Linked DNA regions of Homo sapiens: region 2 is linked to region 1. The links are contacts of gene promoters, found by promoter capture Hi-C in blood cells and fetal thymus (Javierre and others, 2016). All regions are on one chromosome and are shown on one strand. Each heading gives the region's core, a stretch centred on a gene start or on the middle of the fragment in contact. The rest is flanking DNA. Distances are from core to core; before and after follow the strand shown. Region 1 holds the start of MRAS (muscle RAS oncogene homolog). Region 2 overlaps MRPS22 (mitochondrial ribosomal protein S22).

What was found. Contacts are between HindIII fragments. The CHiCAGO score rates a contact against its expected background, and 5 or more counts as called.
Region 2: a contact is called between a fragment that was not itself captured here and the fragment with the promoter of MRAS in region 1, in 1 of 17 cell types (activated CD4 T cells). The highest score is 5.9, in activated CD4 T cells.

The regions. Positions count from the first base shown.
Region 1 is chr3:138,346,004-138,350,452 of GRCh38, reverse strand. It overlaps MRAS (muscle RAS oncogene homolog), which reads right to left and starts at 1,874. Exons shown (of 6, transcript NM_001085049.3): 1 at 1,686-1,874. RefSeq lists an enhancer at 1,407-2,362. The HindIII fragment of the contact is 4,446 bases long and covers 305-4,449 here.
Region 2 is chr3:139,348,839-139,353,566 of GRCh38, reverse strand. MRPS22 (mitochondrial ribosomal protein S22) reads right to left here. Exons shown (of 8, transcript NM_020191.4): 4 at 3,245-3,388; 5 at 2,507-2,590; 6 at 775-920. Among named protein-coding and RNA genes, the nearest start is that of MRPS22, 7.2 kb to the right of the region's middle. The HindIII fragment of the contact is 2,342 bases long and covers 2,308-4,649 here.

The DNA.
Region 1 (4,449 bases), core at 625-3,124:
AGAGGCTGGCAGACCTCAAAAACCCCAGAGCATGAAAGCCCCATGCCTCCCACCCCGGCAGAAAAAGGACAAACTACACCATAAACTACAGAGAGAAGCTAACTGGCTGCTGGGCAGTGTGAACAGACCTAAGGGTGAAAACCATTGCCCGAAACATTTTCAGCCCCACTCAGCAGGGACATGTGATTTACAGGAAATTAGGAGGTTTACAAAATGTTAGCAGCTCAAGTTTCTTCCCCGGGAAAAGAAGCAGGAGAAGCTCTAAGAACCGTATCCGAGAAAGTGCTTTGTTCACTGCTAAGCTTCTGACACGAGTCAGTTATTAATACCCACAGCTCACTGCCTCACACTTCAACCCACCAGTGAATGTCTATAGTGAATAATTATAAAACAATATATTACAAAACTCTAACACAGGCTGCACCAGAGCCTTCCGAAGCCCAGGACAGCCACGTGGCCAAAAGCATGGACTTCAGATATGATCTTGGGCAAGCTGTTGGCTCTTTTTCACCCCAGTTCCTCCATCCTTTACAATAAACAAAATCCTTCTGGAGGTGTCTTGTCAAGAGGTGTCTTGTCAAATGATGAGCAAATCCACTTCAAGTGCCTGGTCTTTGGAAGCCCTGTTGGTTGCTGTTATTACAGTGGAGTTTCAGAGCTCTTAAAGTCATATCTCCATCTTACTTCTGCTGCCAGACAAACCTCTGGAGGCCACGATTCCGAGCCTTGTCAGCCACCCTCTCTGGTCAGGTCCAGGACAGAGTGAGTCCTAGAGGAGCAAGGCCAGGGAGGTTCCACACCATCAGGGGCCATTGGGGAGTAGGGGCAATGGCAGAGCTCTATGATCAAGGCCCCAGTGGCCTTGATGGACTCTGTCCACCTCTCCAGACTCCACTTTGCCCCAGGCCAGAACAGACCTCAGCTCTAGCCAGAGTCTAACTGGGTGTCCAGTGTATACGCTGCGGCCAGCCAGACATTAACTCCTCTAGGCGGCCTTCTCTCACCTCCCACTCTGCAGTAGGGACCCCTAGGGGCTCCCACAACCCCTGGGCTTACCGAATCTCAGCACTTACCACACTGGCTTGTCACTTTGTGCTCTTGTCTTCCCCGCAGGGCAGGACTGGCACCGTGTCTGATGCCTCAGCCAGATCAGTTCAATGCATGAGCCCAGGCCCTAGTTGTGACCACAGCTCCAGCTCCCCAAACCTCCGGGGGCAGTGAAGGGTTGTTTATGAAGCAGGCTGCGTTTTATTATTCAGATGAATTTGTCAACTCCCTGGCGGATCCCTCCCCTCGTTAACGCCATCTTAAGGCGGGGGGGTAAAGAGTCCCCCACCCACCCACCCATCCCCCGCCGCCCCGTCCTGCCGCCCATCTATCCACCGGGTTCTCGCCCAGGCAGCCAAGGAACTGTAATTACCATGAAAGGGTCTCTCTGAGCGGCGCGCAGGCCCTCCCCACTGGGGTCTTGGTCGTGGCCGATTTCACGAACGCACACCGTTACGCGGGAGCCCGCGATGGGGGCAAAACGCCACGCACAGCCGGTCCCAGGGCGCACCCCGCAAGCGGAGAGCGCGGCCGAGCCCGGAGGGCGGCCACACCTCCCGCCCCGGAACAAAGCGACGGCCGGGGCGAGAGGCGGCGCGGCCGGGCCCCCTCCCCTCCAAGGCCGCCCGACCACTCACCGCGCGCTCCAGCCCCGGCTCGGCTACGGCACTCAGGCCGCCCCCTCCTAGCCTGCGCCGGTGAGGAGGCAGCGTCGCGCCCGCCGGGCCCCGCGGCCGCCGGACTGACGGCTCCCCGCCAGCCGGCCACTCCGGTCCGTCCCCGCCCCGGCGCCTCCTTAAAGCGACCGCGCCGCCAGCGTGCGCCCCGAGCGCCTAGCGCGCCGCGCATTCCTTATATTGCCACAGCGCCTGCTAAAAATAGAGCGCCGCTGCGGGCGCGCCAGTGGGGAGCCCGGGCCGGGTGCCTCGACCCTGTCGCCCCCGCGTGCACCCCGGCCCCCAGGACGCGCGCCTACGAAGTCCAGCCCACCCGCGCCGAGTCCCCTGGGCCCGGCAGGGCGCGCTAGAGCGCCAGGGGCTGGGGTCGGCGCCGCAGCCTCTCCCGCGGCCCAGCACTTACCCGGGTCAGATCCGTGGTGCCGGGGAGCTGGCTTTAAGGTGGACGCCGAGTGGGAATTCGACTCGGCCTCTTTAAGAGCCTCTGCGCTCCAACCTTTAAATCTCCGCTCCGGCCGGGCCAACTTCTGAGCCTAGGGACGCCTCCCCAGTCCTAGGCGAACCTCCGCCGCCACCTTAGCTGCATTCCCTTCGAATCCTGAGACGTCTTTCTTCCAGATCATGCCCCAGCGTCTCTCCCCGCAGGCCTTCTGGGTGCACCGTTCCAGGGCCCAAACTTCGTTGGGATGGATGCGACGGGGACAGGCGACACTCGCGCACCATTTCATTGTTTCAGTTCCGCTAACTCCTCTCCAGCGGCGTCATTTTCCCCCCGTTAAAAAAATAAAGATATAATTCAACACCATAAAATTCCACCTTTTGAAGTGTACAATTCAAGCCGGGCGCGGTGGCTCACGCCTGTAATCCTAACACTTTGGGAGGCCGAGGCGGGTGAATCGCCTGAGGTCAGGAGTTCAAGACCAGCCTAGGCAACATGGTGAAACCCCGTCTCTACTAAAAATACAAAAGTCAACCCGGCATGGCGGCACGTGCCTGTGATCTCATCTACTCGGGAGGCTGAGGCAGGAGAATCACGTGAACCCGGGAGGCAGAGGTTGTAGTGAGCCGAGATTGCGCTACTGCACTCTAGCCTGGGCAACAGAGTGAGACGCTGTCTCAAAAAAAAAAAAGTGTACGATTCAGTGGTGTTTAGCATATTCACAAAGTTTTGCAACCATCACCATGAGCTAATTCCAGAACATTTTCACCACTTCCCACTCCCCTCCCCTGCCCCTCACAAAAAGAACTACCCGTTAGCAGTCACTCCTCATTCACCCCTTTCCTCCGCCTCTGGGAACCACTAATCTACTTTCAATCTCTATGGATTTCCCTATTCAGGACATTTTCTATAAACGGAATCATACAACATGTGGCCTTTTGTGACTATGACTAGCTTCTTTCAGTAACCAATGTTTAATGATCTATTCATGTTGTAACATGTAGCAGTACTTCATTCCTTTTCATGACTGAGTAATATTTCACTGTATGTCTATACGTTTTGTTTATCCCTGCATCACTTGATGGATATTTAGTTTTCTGCTTTGGGGCTACTGTGAATAAAGCTGCTATGAATATTCATGTACAAGTCTTTGTATGAACATATGCTTTTCTTTCTCTTGGGTATATACCTAAGAGTGGAATTCCTGGATCATATGTTAACTCCATGTTTAACTTTTGGGGGAACTGCCAAACTGTTTTCCAAAGCAGCTGCACCATTTTACATTCCCACCAACAACATATGAGGGTTCCAATATCTCCACATCTTTGCAAACACTTGTAATTGTGTGTCTTTTTTTATTCTAGTCATCCTATTGGGGGCGAAATGGCATTTCATTGTGGTTTTGATTGTCAGCATCATTTCTGAGGACATTCTTTTTCTGGGTGGACCTCAATGACTTAGAACCAGCTTTACATGTCCAGGGAACCCACTCCCTTCTCAGGTTTGCCCCAGGCCTAAGGGAGCCTCACAGTGCTGCTGGCTCTGCCTGCCATGCTGAGGCTCTTAATCCCATGCAGGCTTCCTTTGGCATCCCAGCCACCCATGCAGCCATTTGGTGGGAGCTGCTGTGCACCCCCTGTGCCTCCACTCCCACCTGCTGCTCCAAAGACCCTGTAGACCCCAAGTGTCCCCCAGGAAGGGGACAGCAGGTTGGGTGCCATCAAGAGTATCTCTCCTTGGCAGTAGGGAGTAAAAGACCTGGTTGGGGAGAAGGCTTGAGGGACAGTAGTTTACCTCGACTGTCTAGGTTTGCCCTGGAACCTGACTCCCTCAACCCCCTCTATTTACCACAGAACTTGGGAAGGCGGGCAGGGATCTGTACATCCTGGTGGCCTGTCAGCCCCTCGTGGGCTCCCCATGTAAGAGATGTCCTCTCTTGGGCCCTGACTGGCACAAGACCCTGACCATGCCCTCAGCTTGAGCTGAGCCAACATCTATGCAAGAGTCAAAGAGATGTCTTTATACTGCTTTTATACACATATCTGTAATAATACCTCTTCTCAGAAATGGAACTTAAACAGCTAATAGTCATACCCAGGTACCTGGGATTCTCCTTTTTTTTTTTTTTTTTTTTTTTTTTTTTTGAGACAGAGTCTCGCTCTGTCACCCAGGCTATAATGCAGTCGCATGATCATAGCATCATAGCTCACTGCAGCCTCGACCTCCCGGACTCAAGACATCTTCTTACCTCAGCATCCTGAGTAGCTGGGACTATAGGTGTGCACC
Region 2 (4,728 bases), core at 2,229-4,728, 1.0 Mb before region 1:
ATGTTAGGATACTCTGCGAGTCAAAAACTAACAGTCTGAAGGTGGCAATAATCTCAAAACTGTCTTGTAGTTCAGACTTGAGTCCAGCAAGGGCTTTTTGTGGAAAGTTGACTTTCTTACTACAGCCATGCTGCTTCCTTGTCATTTTGGCCTTCCTAAATCAACTGATAGAAAGATGCTCAAAAACTATTTTCTCTTCAGTTTTACCACAAGTTGTATTATTATTTCCAGCTAGAAGCCTGGGAGCACACCAGCTTGATGCTAAAATACAACAGGTATTTTTTGTTTCATGCTACTCTGAAAAGAAGCTAACTTTTTCATGCCTTAAAAATCTTGCAAAAGCAAGGGATATCAAAAGTATTTTCATAAGTTAAAGGATGGTGTTTACTGAAAAGCCCTAGAAATAGTTCTACCAGAAAACAACCACAGAGCTTATTTCTACTTCTTTACATTTCCTATTTAATCCCCCTTTCGGTATCTGGAAAGTTCAGCAACCCAGGAGCATTGGTGAGCTCAGGATAAGTTAATATTGAGGGTTTACAGTACAGATCCAAAGCCACTTACTCTTTCAAGAGAAAGTAAGTGGCTTACTTACACTTTATATAAAAGCAAAAACTAGGAGAGCTAGGTTATACTAAAAGAACAAATCCATAAACTGAGGTAAGCAAGCACTAGACAGTACACTGTTATCACTGGAAAAATACCATAGCCTAAATACAGATGAACTGTTAGAGCAATAAGAATGATTCTTTCACTTACTAAGATCATACTTACAAATCTCTCTGAATCTGGTCAATCAGCAAACCATCAATCTTTTTATTATTTACAAAATACCACACCATTCCACCAAAGTATCTTGTTGAACGTAAAAGGTCATATTTTCCACGTTTATCTATATCTTCATAGGTCTTGTGATGAACCTATCCACATAAAATGCAACTCTTCAGAAACATGAAAATAAGAAGTATGCAGCATTATTCAACGTACACTGATTAGCATGAGTGCTGCCCAAGCAAGTAAAACCAGGTCTACTTACAGTTGCCTCCATATCATTAACCAATTGGTATGATTTAAACCATTCCTAGTACAACCCACCTTAGGTGGGAAGGAGGATTCTATTAAGAAAGAATTTTGGCCAGGCACAGTGGCTCATGCCTATAATCCCAACACTTTGGGAAGCTGAGGTGGGAGGACTGCTTGAGCAGTCCTCATCTCTAGGAAAATTTTTTAAAAAATTAGCTGGGCATGGCAGGCCACAGAATAAGACCCTGTCTTTAAAAAAATTAAAAGAGAAGAATTTGTCTAAATGACAGCAAGTCTGTGCCTTCTCCACTGTAGAAGTATGTGGCAGCCTGAAGCAAAATACCAAACATTTATAGCCATATTAAGTACTTTTTGGCAGGCCAACTACAATTTATTAAGCACCGATTATGCATATAGAGACCACTGGAAATAATGTAGCACCCACTTCTTGGTCACTATGGCAGAAAAGAAATCAAGTATTTTTTCACTACTCTCCCTTTCCCCTATCCCTCCCCCCATCAACTACCCTATTCTACCAGCTAGCCCATTCCATCTTATTAACTAAAGGTCCTTCAGTCCTCCTTCCAGATTGATCTTCCTAAATGAAGGTTCTGATGGGGGCATTCCTCTGTTCAAAAGGCTTTCAAAGGTCTGCTGACTGAATTCCAGATTCCTCAGCCTAGCATCTGAGGTCACCTATGATGTGGCTACATCCACCTTCCTAACTTAATCTTTAATCACTCCCCTACATATACATGGCATATATAAGCAAACCAGATCACTGGCCGTTTCTCAAGCCTCCTTTTTTCCTGCCTGTTGCTTATACTGTTCTCTCTACCTGAAACACCTCACCCAGCTCCACCTGCCACAACATTTCCTGCACTTCTAGAACCCTCCTTTACACCCCTATGAAGGCTTTCTTCAAAGAATTTGTAATCTTCTCTTAGTGTCTAGCATTTTAGGCCTGAGGAGATAATTATTTGTATACTTACTAGCACCTTTCCCCACAGCCATATCCGGACTGCTGGCTTTGGCACAGCATACTCTATCCTAGTTCGTGGCATCACCTATACTACCCAAGATAATACCTTACACATAGAAGGTACTAATGAATACTTACTGAGCTGTAAGACAAACACACTGTACTTCAGCAAAATTTTAGTAAATAATTTGATTCCTATACGGTAAACTGAAAAGAGAATAGGCTTTGTCATCAAACTTGGGTCCTAACCCTACCACTTAGTAGCTATGCAACTTTCAGCAAGCTACTTAATTCTACAAGCTTAAATTCCCTCATCTTTAATCAAGGGTTGTTGTGATTATAAAATATATATCTGGCACACAACTGTACTCAATAGATTTTCAGGTATTTCTCTTCCCTTTCCCCTGTATCAAAACTTACAACGAAATTCATTGAGCTAGATTAAAAATCTTACTCATAACCATACTTAAGCCTATATTTTAGAAACTAAAATCTACTCACCTTGATATACTCTGTGGAATCTGGCTCAAACTGGGCAAAGCAGAGATTGAGGACATCAACATGCCTGTCCTGGCTATACATAGTCTAAAACCACACAGCAGAGTTAGCATCACATGAGAACACTGAAGTTCAGCACCTGTCCTGATGTCATGACAGGCCTGCCCACCCACATACTGGCCACTCTGTGCTCCTCAAGAAGCATAAAGAAAGAACACAGGCTTTGTAATTGTCACACCTAGATTCAAATTCCAGCTAAGCCAATTATGAGAGAACCCTAGTACAACCCATCTTGGGTGGTAAGGAGGATTCTATTAAGAAAGAAGTCGGCCAGGCATGGTGGCTCACGCCTGTAATCCCAGCACTTTGGGAGTCGGATTGCGGGGGGGGGGTGCGAATCCCGAGGTCAGGAGTTCAAGACCAGCCTGGCCAACATGGTGAAACCCCATCTCTACTAAAAATACAAAAATTAGCCAAGCGTGGTGGCGGGCGCCTGTAATCCCAGCTACTCATGAGGCTGAGGCAGAAGAATCACTTGAAACCAGAAGGTGGAGGTTGCAGTGAGCTGAGATCCCGCCACTGCACTTCAGCCTGGGCAAAAGGAGCGAAACTCCATTTCAAAAAAAAAAAAAAGTCAAGTTATCATTAGAAATGTTTATCTGGATCAAGGCACAAAGCCAACTGGTTCTACAAATAAATCATCACCACTGGCTCTAAAACATAAAACCTAAGTCACCTTACCCTAAGATTTTCTTCCTTGAAAATTATTGGTGTCAAAATTTTACGACCTTCTTTTGGGAAATAAACTTGTATCATTCGGTCCCGTTCTTCCCAAGAGGCTTTGCGTAGTGTGCCACTTGGTTCTCTGACGACAATAAAACGCTCCTAAAATAGAAAAACATAATCAAGGATGCGTTTGTGAGGACGTATTTTTAGTTCCTGTGTCCCACTAAGGCCATTATAAGAATAATTTGCAATCAACAATATAAAATGCAATCATGCATATGAGATCAATGATAATTTTAAACCTCAAAGACTTGGCAAGGTTTGATATTTCCTTCACTAATCACTGCTGTGCATCTGACAATCAGAAATCTAAAATGAAAGTATTCAGTAAGTACCAACTATGGTGCTAACGTGAGTTCGATACGAAAAAAGCTGAGATTCATCTATATCCATTTTAGAGGAAAGAAGTGCTATGACCTTTCCAAACTTTCATTTCTCTATCCCAAAGTCTCATCTAAACAGATTTTACTACTTTATGATCTATGTTTAAAGTCCTTGGGATAAAAAGAACAAACCCAAGAATGAGGAGTCTTACTTCTACACTTTTATGATTTCTTATATTGGCATTAGACATAAACATGTCTGAGAGGCTGTCTGGTCCAACTGTCTCTGGTCACTTCGATCTTCCAACTGCCAACTCCCAGGCCATGGGATCACTTCCTCCTCTAAATTCTACCTACTTTTTATACCATTCAACTGGAAATTTACCCCACACAAGATTTTTGGCATCCCTCAGATATTGTTATATAACTGGAAAAGGGCAGGAAATGTGGATTATAATTTTTTGCAATACCGGGAGTGGCATACATGGAGCTTTGCACATTGCTGATAATTGATACACACCTGATTAATGTATAAATTAACCAAACAGTACTGACTCTCAAGTTTTCAGAGGTGTAGGAGTCTCTAAATGTGTTCTGAAGATAACATAGATGAAACTTCCATCAACACTGCCAATCGAAAAAAAAAAAGCACATGCCAACATAATACAATTTTTCCTCAGAAGGATTTTGGTAATTTGAGAAACCTGAATTCCAAGTTCCTTTCTCCTTTTCAAGTTACAAAATGCTTCCCAACCAACATGCACAGCACTGCAAACATATATTAAAGCATCACAAAACAAAAACTGTAATTAAAATTGAAACTCTGTGACTCATGTTCATTATGTCAAATATACAGATGGCTGGTGTTGAACATAGCTCAAATCGTTTTCTAACCATAATCATGTATAATAAAAGATTAATATGGAGTGAACCTTCTCCTAAACTCAGCATTCTATAGTGTTCTAACGTATTCTGTGGGCTGAATTGTAAACTATTCTCTTTTTATTCTTTACTTGCAAAGGCTCAAATACAAAGCTTACATATTTCTAAAATGCCAGAGTGTTCTTTTAAATTTGCAATCAAGTAAAGAGGAGCCAGAGAATAACAATCACAACA